Regions from separate parts of the Homo sapiens genome. Here all the other regions are linked to region 2. The links are contacts of gene promoters, found by promoter capture Hi-C in human tissues and cell types (Jung and others, 2019). All regions are on one chromosome and are shown on one strand. The core of a region is centred on a gene start or on the middle of the fragment in contact, and the rest is flanking DNA. Distances in the headings are between cores, read along the strand shown. Region 1 overlaps CYFIP2 (cytoplasmic FMR1 interacting protein 2). Region 2 holds the start of FNDC9 (fibronectin type III domain containing 9). Region 3 overlaps CYFIP2 (cytoplasmic FMR1 interacting protein 2).

Region 1 (2,706 bases), core at 18-2,517, 55 kb after region 2:
AAGAATTTTACTAGGCCATCTCTTTTTATAAATGTTTATATCTATATTAAAAAATGAACTTTATTTTTAAATCCACATACCACCATTTCATAATATCTTATTAGTATAACAGCAGATCAATTTACTTATGACAGTTCTGTTTTCAGCAGCAAATGTCATTGACAAGTCACACTTCAATGATTAATTTAGAGAACTTTAAAAATCAGTAACATGTTGTCCTTGAGAACAGGGAGAACCAATCAAGCCCGTGGGTCCCGCAGTCATCTGCCTCAGAACACATGTCCAAAAGGGGAAGTGACAGTCACGTAAGGAACACGTGTCTACTTGTAGCACCAACCTGCCTGCCGACGGGTGTTAATTCCGACTCATGCATTCAGTGAATGTTTAACTGGGCACTCATGGGTCCCAGGCTCTGTGCTTTGTGCTGCAAACAGCGCAGTGAACAAGAAGAATGTGAACTCTGCCCTACGGACAGTTTGGCCATCAGCCAGATCTGTCATGCAATTATGCTAGAATGTAGAGGTTAGGATGGTGCAGTGGAAAGAGCCCTGGGTGGGGTCTTGGGAAACTTGAGTTCTGGTCCTCACTCTTCTTGGGCCCACCTTTTAACTTGTAATGTCTTAGTTTCCTTACTTGGAGGTAAAGAGTTGGCCTGAATCATTCGTGTTCAACCCTTGTTGTATATTAGAGTCACCTGGGGAATTTGATGCCTAAGCCATGCCCCAGATTAACTAAATATTTATCCCTGGGGATGGGGTGGGGCACTGGTGTTTTTAAACAATCCCCAGGTTGATTCTCTTGTGCAGCCCACATTGACAGCTTCAGGACTAAGGATCTCTAAGGTCCTTTACATTTCTAATATTCTGAAAGTCCATGACTTAAACCCAATGTGAGTGTAGCTCAAATTTTATGTAGTGACAGATCCAGTGATCACTCAGCCCCCATCTCACCCCAGCAAAGAACCCTCAACTCTTCCATATAGTTGGTCAGTTATGTGGTTTACGTACTTCCCCTCCTCCTCTTTTCTCTGGCTATCCTGTCCTTTGAGAGATTCACCTTGCCCAAGTGGGGACAGGAGACATACAAGAAGATGAGCATCTCATACACCCACATTGCTGCTAATAAGCTACCTTAGAAAGACTGGGGAAGGCACGAGGAAGACACTGTTGACTGAAGGGAGATTTTGGTGTTATCCAGGAATGTCAGCATTGCATGCCACTCATGACTCATGCCTAAGCCACATCAACACTCTCCCTGTGTAGGCAGAATAATGGTCCCCCCAAGATGTCTGTATCCTAATCCCTGGTGCCTGTGAATATGTTCCTTCACATGGAAAGAGGCAATTTGCTGATGTGACCAATTAAGAGCCTTGCAATGGGGGTAGGCGGGTGGTGGTGGTTGTTCTGGATTATCCTGGGGAGCCCAGTGTAAACACAAGGTACTCATAAGCAAAAGAGGGAGGCAGAAGAGTCAGAGAAGGAGATTTGAAGATGCAGGCAGAGATCAGAGTGATGTCACTGCTGGCTGGGGGCCACGAGTCAAGGAATGTAGACACCTCTAGAAGCTGGAAAAGGCAAGGGAACAGACTTTCTCCTGGAGCCTGCAGAAGGAATGCGGCCCTGCTGGCACCCTGATTTTAACTCAGTAAGACCCACGTCAGACTTCTGACCTACAAAACTATAAGCAAATAAATCAGTGTTCTTCTAAGCCACTAAGTTTGTGACACTCTATTAGGGCAGTAACAGAAAATGAACACTATCACTCTCCAACCTAACCCCTCCTTCCGACTGCTCTGTTGGTGTCTTGACCTGGTCTTCCTGGGAACTCAGTCAGTGCAGTCCCAGGTGACTGCTAAGCCAGTGTCCCTCACATCCATATCCTCTTAGCTGTACCCCAGTGCCATCACCCTCATTCAGCCTTGAATGCCTGCAGTGTAGATAACTTTAATTATCTTGACTAATTTATTTGCCTCATTCCTACTTGCAACTCATTCTACATATGACTAACACATGGAATCTGTCCCCCAAGCTGCGTTCTGTTCATATCTCTTTTAAGGATAAAGATTTTTCCATTGTTTTTAATTTTTTATTAAATAAACTAAAGCCTTCTGTTATGGGCTGAATTGTGTGCCCCCCAAATTTATAGGTTGAAGCCCTAACCCCACAGGACCTCAGAATGTGACTGTATTTGGAGACGGGGCCTTTAAAGAGGTAATTAAGTTAAAATGAGGCCATTAGAGAGGGCCCTGATCTAATCTGACTGGTGTCCTTATAAAAAGAGGAAATCTGGACACACAGAAAGAAGGTGCCAGAGATGTGTGCACACAGAGAAGAGACCATGTGAGGATGCAGAGAGAAACAGCCATCTGGGAGCCAAGGAAAAAAGTCTGAGGAAAAACCGAACCTACAGACACCTTGATCTTGGACTTCTAATCTCCGGAACGGGGAGGAAATACATTTTTGCTGTTTAAGCCATTTAGTCTGTGGCACTTTGTTAAGGTATCCAAGCCAACGAATACACCCTCTATGCCCCGACCCTTTATTTGTAGGGAATCTGTAAACAATATCCCTATATGCACTTTACAGTCCATACCAGTCACTCCTCGAAAATCCTTGCCCTGTGCCTTTGCTCACACCAGCTCTTCCACATGGTGTGCTCTCCCCGTCTCATCTCTGACTGGTAAAATTCTAACTGTGTGAGACAGCA
Region 2 (2,700 bases), core at 50-2,549:
TGGGTTCTTACAAGGTTGAAAGGAACAGGAAGGGATGGAACCTCAAAGCCAGACGGCCCTTTATGAGAAAAGGGGAGGCAAGCAGTCTGGATTCTTGAAAGGAAAGGAACGCTGGGGATGATTCAATCCAGGAGTAGCAAACAGTTTCCATTTCTGGCGTCAACTCCAACTGATTGATTGGGAAGCAGTTTCTTGGGACGCTTGTGTTCAGAGGAACTCTGGGGCTGTTTCTGCACCCAGCTGGAAGCAGTGCTGCATTAGATTCCTAGGGTTGCTATCACAAATTACCATAAATGTGGCAGCTTAACATGACAGAAATTTATTCTCTCACAGTTCTGGAGACCAGAAGCCTGAAATCAAGGCTCTCGCAGAACCATGCCCTCTCCAAGGCTCTAGGGGAGAATGTTTCCTTGCCTTCCCAGCTGCTGATGGCTCCCGGTGTTCCTTGGCTGATGGCAGCATCCTTCCACTCTCTGCCTCTGTTTTCCCTTGGCTTCTTCCCCTTGAGTCTCTCTGTCTTTTCTCTTACAAAGACATTAGTCATTGGATTTAGGGCTCACCCTTAAATCCAGGAAGATTTCATCTTGAGATCCTTAACTAGTTATATCTACGAAGGCTCTATTTCTAAATCAGGTCACATCCTAAGGTTCTGGATGGATATGTATTTTGGGGGGGCATTATTCAACCCAGTGAGAGTGCCATGATGGTTTAGCAAGCTTGACAGGGGTTCAGGGCTGTGCAGGGATAGGGCTCAGGTCTTCTGCCTTCTGATCTGCCATCCTGATGTAGCCCAAGCCCACAGCTTTACAGATGATGGTGGAACTGAGACTCAGACAATAAAAATAAAAGGGTCTTGACCAGTACCATATAACTATGTAATGGCACATGAGTCAAGAATAAAGAAAGATGAAGATAAAGAGGTGGGGTAGGCAGTTGGGATGGGGAAGTGTAGGGGTGGGAGGGGATGAAGATGAATATTACTGCTTTGGTTGTGGAATAACTGAGAAAAGCATCTTTGCATTTAAAACCATTGGCCAAAGAGGATCTAGATGGGACAAGAAAATAATAATCAGCCAACTGGGGAGAAAATGTAGGAGTGTTAGAAGAATTAGTACTGCACTGGGGACCAGTTTTCAGGGGATCATCTGCCCTTTTTCAGCCAAAGGAATGAGAGCTCCTCTCACTGGGCAAAAGCCTTTCCAGGCTGGTCCCTGAAAGCATCGTGCGTACAGATGCCTGCTGGTTGCCATGGTGAATGATGCTGATCTGAAGAAATGAATAATGTGAGCATTAGGGGCGGCAGTGGGATTACTCAGTGTTGAGAGAAACAACACGGAAAGCCCAGAGCAGAGGAGGGAGAAGGCCCCATTCTCTCAGCTTTAATCTACTGCACCTCGGAGGGCAGAGCTCTAACCAGACACGCTGCAAGCATCAGGTAAGACATATAGATGGCTCTTCTTGGAAATGGAAATGGCTTCTTTTCACACTCTGCTTGGAGAAGGGCCGGGCAAATGAATAGTTAAAAATAGGGGAGAATTTAGAAACGGAAACAGAGGAAGAAAAATCAATAAGGGAGACGGACCTGGTCCTAAAAGGTGAGGATGCTATTTGCGTCTTGACAGAAAGCTCTTAAAAATGTCTGCTGAGGTAATTCCATCTGTACAGACAGCTAGTGGCAGATAGGAAGCCAAGAGAACATTTGTGCGTGACAAGAAACAGGATTCCTGATTACTCCTGATGGAAAGGTTTTACACAGGTGGCTGCCTATAATGAATTAAGCTCTTTTCATCGTGGTCGAAAGTGTATTTATAGTGATGTGTGGTGTGGGGAGGATGAGTGTGTAGAGGACACCAAGCTAGGAAACATAAACATTCGGTCTCCTTCATGATGACCTTCCCTGGAAGGGTCTGAGCACATCCGTCTCATCCCTTTCGTTCCCTATTTACTGGGAAGAAATATTCAGCCACATAGAAAGACACTATTCACCTTCCTGAGTATCTTAGTTCACTGTTACCCTTACAGAAGAAAAACAAGGATTAAGAAACTACTCAATGCTGTGCACCTTTCTGCAGCTCCACTCCTGGAGGAAAATGGGCACAAACACAAGAGGATGGGGGAAAGCAGAGGTGAGAGAAAGGCAGGTCATAATAGCCATTGGTTTGGCTTAATATCCAATGCAGGCGAAAATCCAGTTGACAGCTGTTTACTATGTCACTGCAACCCAAAATGAAACCTACGGGGTTTCATGTGAGGGAGGAGAGGCGGAAGACAAAGCAGGGTGAGACTGTTATGTGAATATGCGTAGGCTGACTATGACTGTCTCTGTATTTCTGATCAGGGGCAATCAGTAGAGGGAACTGCATGAGAGAAACTAAAATACTTGAAGATGGCTCTCTCTTATCAAAGCGGGGCCTGGCAATCTAAAGAGGGCTCATTTGATTTGTCTGGAAAAACAGCAACTGGGTCTCAGTCCTGGCACCTCATTTTGCGATAACGTCTGTAACTAAACCCGGCAGCCTTGCATTAGGAAATGTAGTGGTTAGGCGGCACTAAGTCCTTTTTCTACGTATTAGCGGTGTGACATCAGGTTGCTCATCCGTAAAATGGGAATCTAGCTCAGAGGATGTGATGAAGAATAAAGGAAATTAATTACTGCCTGTGAATCATCTAGCATGACAAGTGACATAGCAACCACTTACT
Region 3 (2,706 bases), core at 128-2,627, 50 kb before region 2:
GCAGCCAGGAGGGAGGCTGTACCCTGCAAAGCTACAGGGGTGGAGTTGCCCAAGACCAGGGATCCCACCTCTTGCATCAGTGTGACCTGGATGTGAGACCTGGAGTCAAAGGAGCTCAATTTGGATTTTTAAAATTTGACCACTCTGCTGGATTTTGACTTGCATGGGGCCTGTAACCCCTGTGTTTTGGCCAATTTCTCCCATTTGGAATGGCTGTATCTACCCAATACCTGTACCCCCATTGTATTTAGGAAGTAACTAGCTTGCTTTTCATTTTACAGACTCGTAGGCAGAAGGGACTTGTCTTGTTTCAGATGTGACTTTGGACAATGGACTTTTGGGTTAATGCTGAAATTAGTTAAGACTTTGGGGGACTGTTGGGAAGGCATGATTTGTTTTGAAAGGTGAGGACATGAGATTTGGAGGGGCCAGGGGCAGAAGGATATGGCTTGTCTGTGTCCCCACCCGAATCTCAACTTGTATCTCCCAGAATTCCCACGTGTTGTGGGAGGGACCCAGGGGGAGGTAATTGAATCATGGGGACCCGTCTTTCCCATGTTGTTCTCATGATAGTGAATAAGTCTCATGAGATCTGATGGGTTTATTAGGGGTTTCCGCTTTAGCCTTTTCCTCGTTTTTCTCTTGCTACTGCCATGTAAGAAGTGCCTTTCCCCTCCTGCCATGATTCTGAGGCCTCCCTGGCCATGTCCAACTGTAAGTCCAATTAAACCTCTTTCTTCCCAGTCTTGGGTATGTCTTTATCCCCGTGTGAAAACAGACTAATAAAACCATCTAGGAGATAGGGTGTTGATCTAGACTGATAAGGTTCTGCAGCACTCCTCAGAGTCTTATGGATCTTCGAAGGGAAAGATCATGAAGTGTTCCCCAAATTTATCTTCTTTGGAACCCTTTTTTCACTGAGCATCTAATAGCTAATAGCCCTCCCACTACACTAGCTCAAATATGACTCCTTGTGATGGCAATTTTATGAGGTGATGACATACGTTGAGAAAGACTTTGAGTGTGTGAAGTAGACCCCTCAAAGTGCACCAGTGGGAAATTACCTAGAATCAGGATATCAGAGCTAGAAGAGATCAACTTGTCCAACTTGACAGAAGAGGAAACAGCCCTAGGACTCATCTTAGTGGATGACCTTTAGGAAAGCTTGTGCTATGTGAAATGTGAGGCTCAATTTGTTAAAGATGTAATCCCCCACGTGGGAAAGCAAGCAAAGCCATTAGTTTATTGTGCATTAACCTATATTTTTCTTTGATTCTGTTTTAGGTTGTTTGCTTAGTAATTAGTTTTAATATGGCCTTCTACAGGTCAATGAGGATTAGAATAGAACCAGGAATCAAGACCAAGTTGCTGGTTTTACTAGTTTGGAAGCAGTTTTAATGAAGATGGAAATGTTTATCAACTCAACACAGGTACCCCCAAAATACAAATCAAAATATCATCTTCAGCTGCATAGCAAATATGATTTAAGAATTTAACATCATTATTTGATCACAAGCGTAAATATGTCACCATAAATAAATGTAAATTCATTGTACAAAAATTCCCAACAACTCTTAATACAAATATGGTACATTTGACAGTTTCTGAAACAGATTATTTTTAAAACTTTTTAAAACCTAAGCTTTATTTTTTTCCTGGTTATTAGACACACACAAAAAAAATAAAAAGAGGCTGGGGCAGTAATGCCAAGGAGGAAAGAATATTAAACTCATTGGGTGTTCGGAAATCAGTGCCACTGGCAAGCCAGGGAAATGAAATCTTTCTGCTGAAAGGGAAGACCTCAGTCTACTGGGATCAAGTCTCCTGAAGGTAATGTGACTCGGCCCAGAGGGTCAAATTTAGGGATATGAATGTGGGGTGAGAGAGGTGGGTTATTGAAATAGAAATCTCATCAAATAGATTATTCAAATCTCCATGAAGTCGTGGTCAAGGATTTGGATGGAACTCTAGCCATCTATCAGCTACAGAGAGCCAGCTACCATCCTCAGACAGGACTAAAGATGTAGAAGGATCTGGAACTTTGACATTTTATATGTTTTGAAAGCATGTTCTGCCATCTGGGATAATGTGTCTCTTTTGCCTCTGGAACACATCTATGGTCATCAAGAAGGAAAAGTCAGAAACCAGAATAGAAGGTGGTACCTCCAGACAGGAGGATCTGCCAGTTACTACTTGGAACCTCCTCCCTTCTCTCTTCCCTGTATGATGTATTTTCTTTCATGGCTTAGTGGTAGCTCAAAGCTCAAGGTGACCAGAATGATTCCCTTACAGCAGTGGTTCCCAAACATTGATGTGCAACAGAACAACTTGGGTAGTTTGTAGAAAGGGCAGATTTCCTGGCCCTATTCCCAGAGATTCAGAATTAGTAGGTTTGAGGTGGGGCCCAGGAATCTGCACTCAAATGTGCTACTCTCAGGATCTGACCTAAGGGGCCTTTCATATGTGGCCCCCTTTCCTCACCGGAGGACATAAGTGCATCACACAAACCTCTTGCTGTGGGCACTTCCTTTGGGGTTAAAAATGGGACCATTTGATTAAGGCAACCATTGCTAACCATCTTACTTCCCTGGGCTGGAGAAATATCAAATGTCACATTTTATGTTCTTAAAATCTCAGGGCCACAGATTTCCTTTGACAATGACATGCTCTGTAACATGAAATTTATATCCTAAAGCCTTTTGTCCT

Evidence for each region. Contacts are between HindIII fragments. The study calls those that stand out against the background at their distance.
Region 1: a contact is called between a fragment that was not itself captured here and the fragment with the promoter of FNDC9 in region 2, in 1 of the 25 tissues and cell types used here (hippocampus).
Region 3: a fragment that was not itself captured here is called in contact with the fragment with the promoter of FNDC9 in region 2 in 1 of the 25 tissues and cell types used here (hippocampus).

Annotation. Positions count from the first base shown.
Region 1 is chr5:157,289,195-157,291,900 of GRCh38, reverse strand. The region is part of intron 3 of CYFIP2 (cytoplasmic FMR1 interacting protein 2); the gene reads right to left. Among named protein-coding and RNA genes, the nearest start is that of CYFIP2, 24 kb to the right of the region's middle. RefSeq lists a silencer at 189-238. The HindIII fragment of the contact is 6,760 bases long and covers 1-2,706 here.
Region 2 is chr5:157,344,276-157,346,975 of GRCh38, reverse strand. FNDC9 (fibronectin type III domain containing 9) reads left to right here and starts at 1,299. Exons shown (of 2, transcript NM_001001343.4): 1 at 1,299-1,435. All of the region lies in intron 23 of CYFIP2 (cytoplasmic FMR1 interacting protein 2), which reads right to left. The HindIII fragment of the contact is 6,264 bases long and covers 1-2,700 here.
Region 3 is chr5:157,394,258-157,396,963 of GRCh38, reverse strand. CYFIP2 (cytoplasmic FMR1 interacting protein 2) reads right to left here. Exons shown (of 31, transcript NM_001037333.3): 31 at 1,370-2,706. All of the region lies in intron 1 of NIPAL4-DT (NIPAL4 divergent transcript), which reads left to right. Among named protein-coding and RNA genes, the nearest start is that of FNDC9, 50 kb to the right of the region's middle. The HindIII fragment of the contact is 4,768 bases long and covers 1-2,706 here.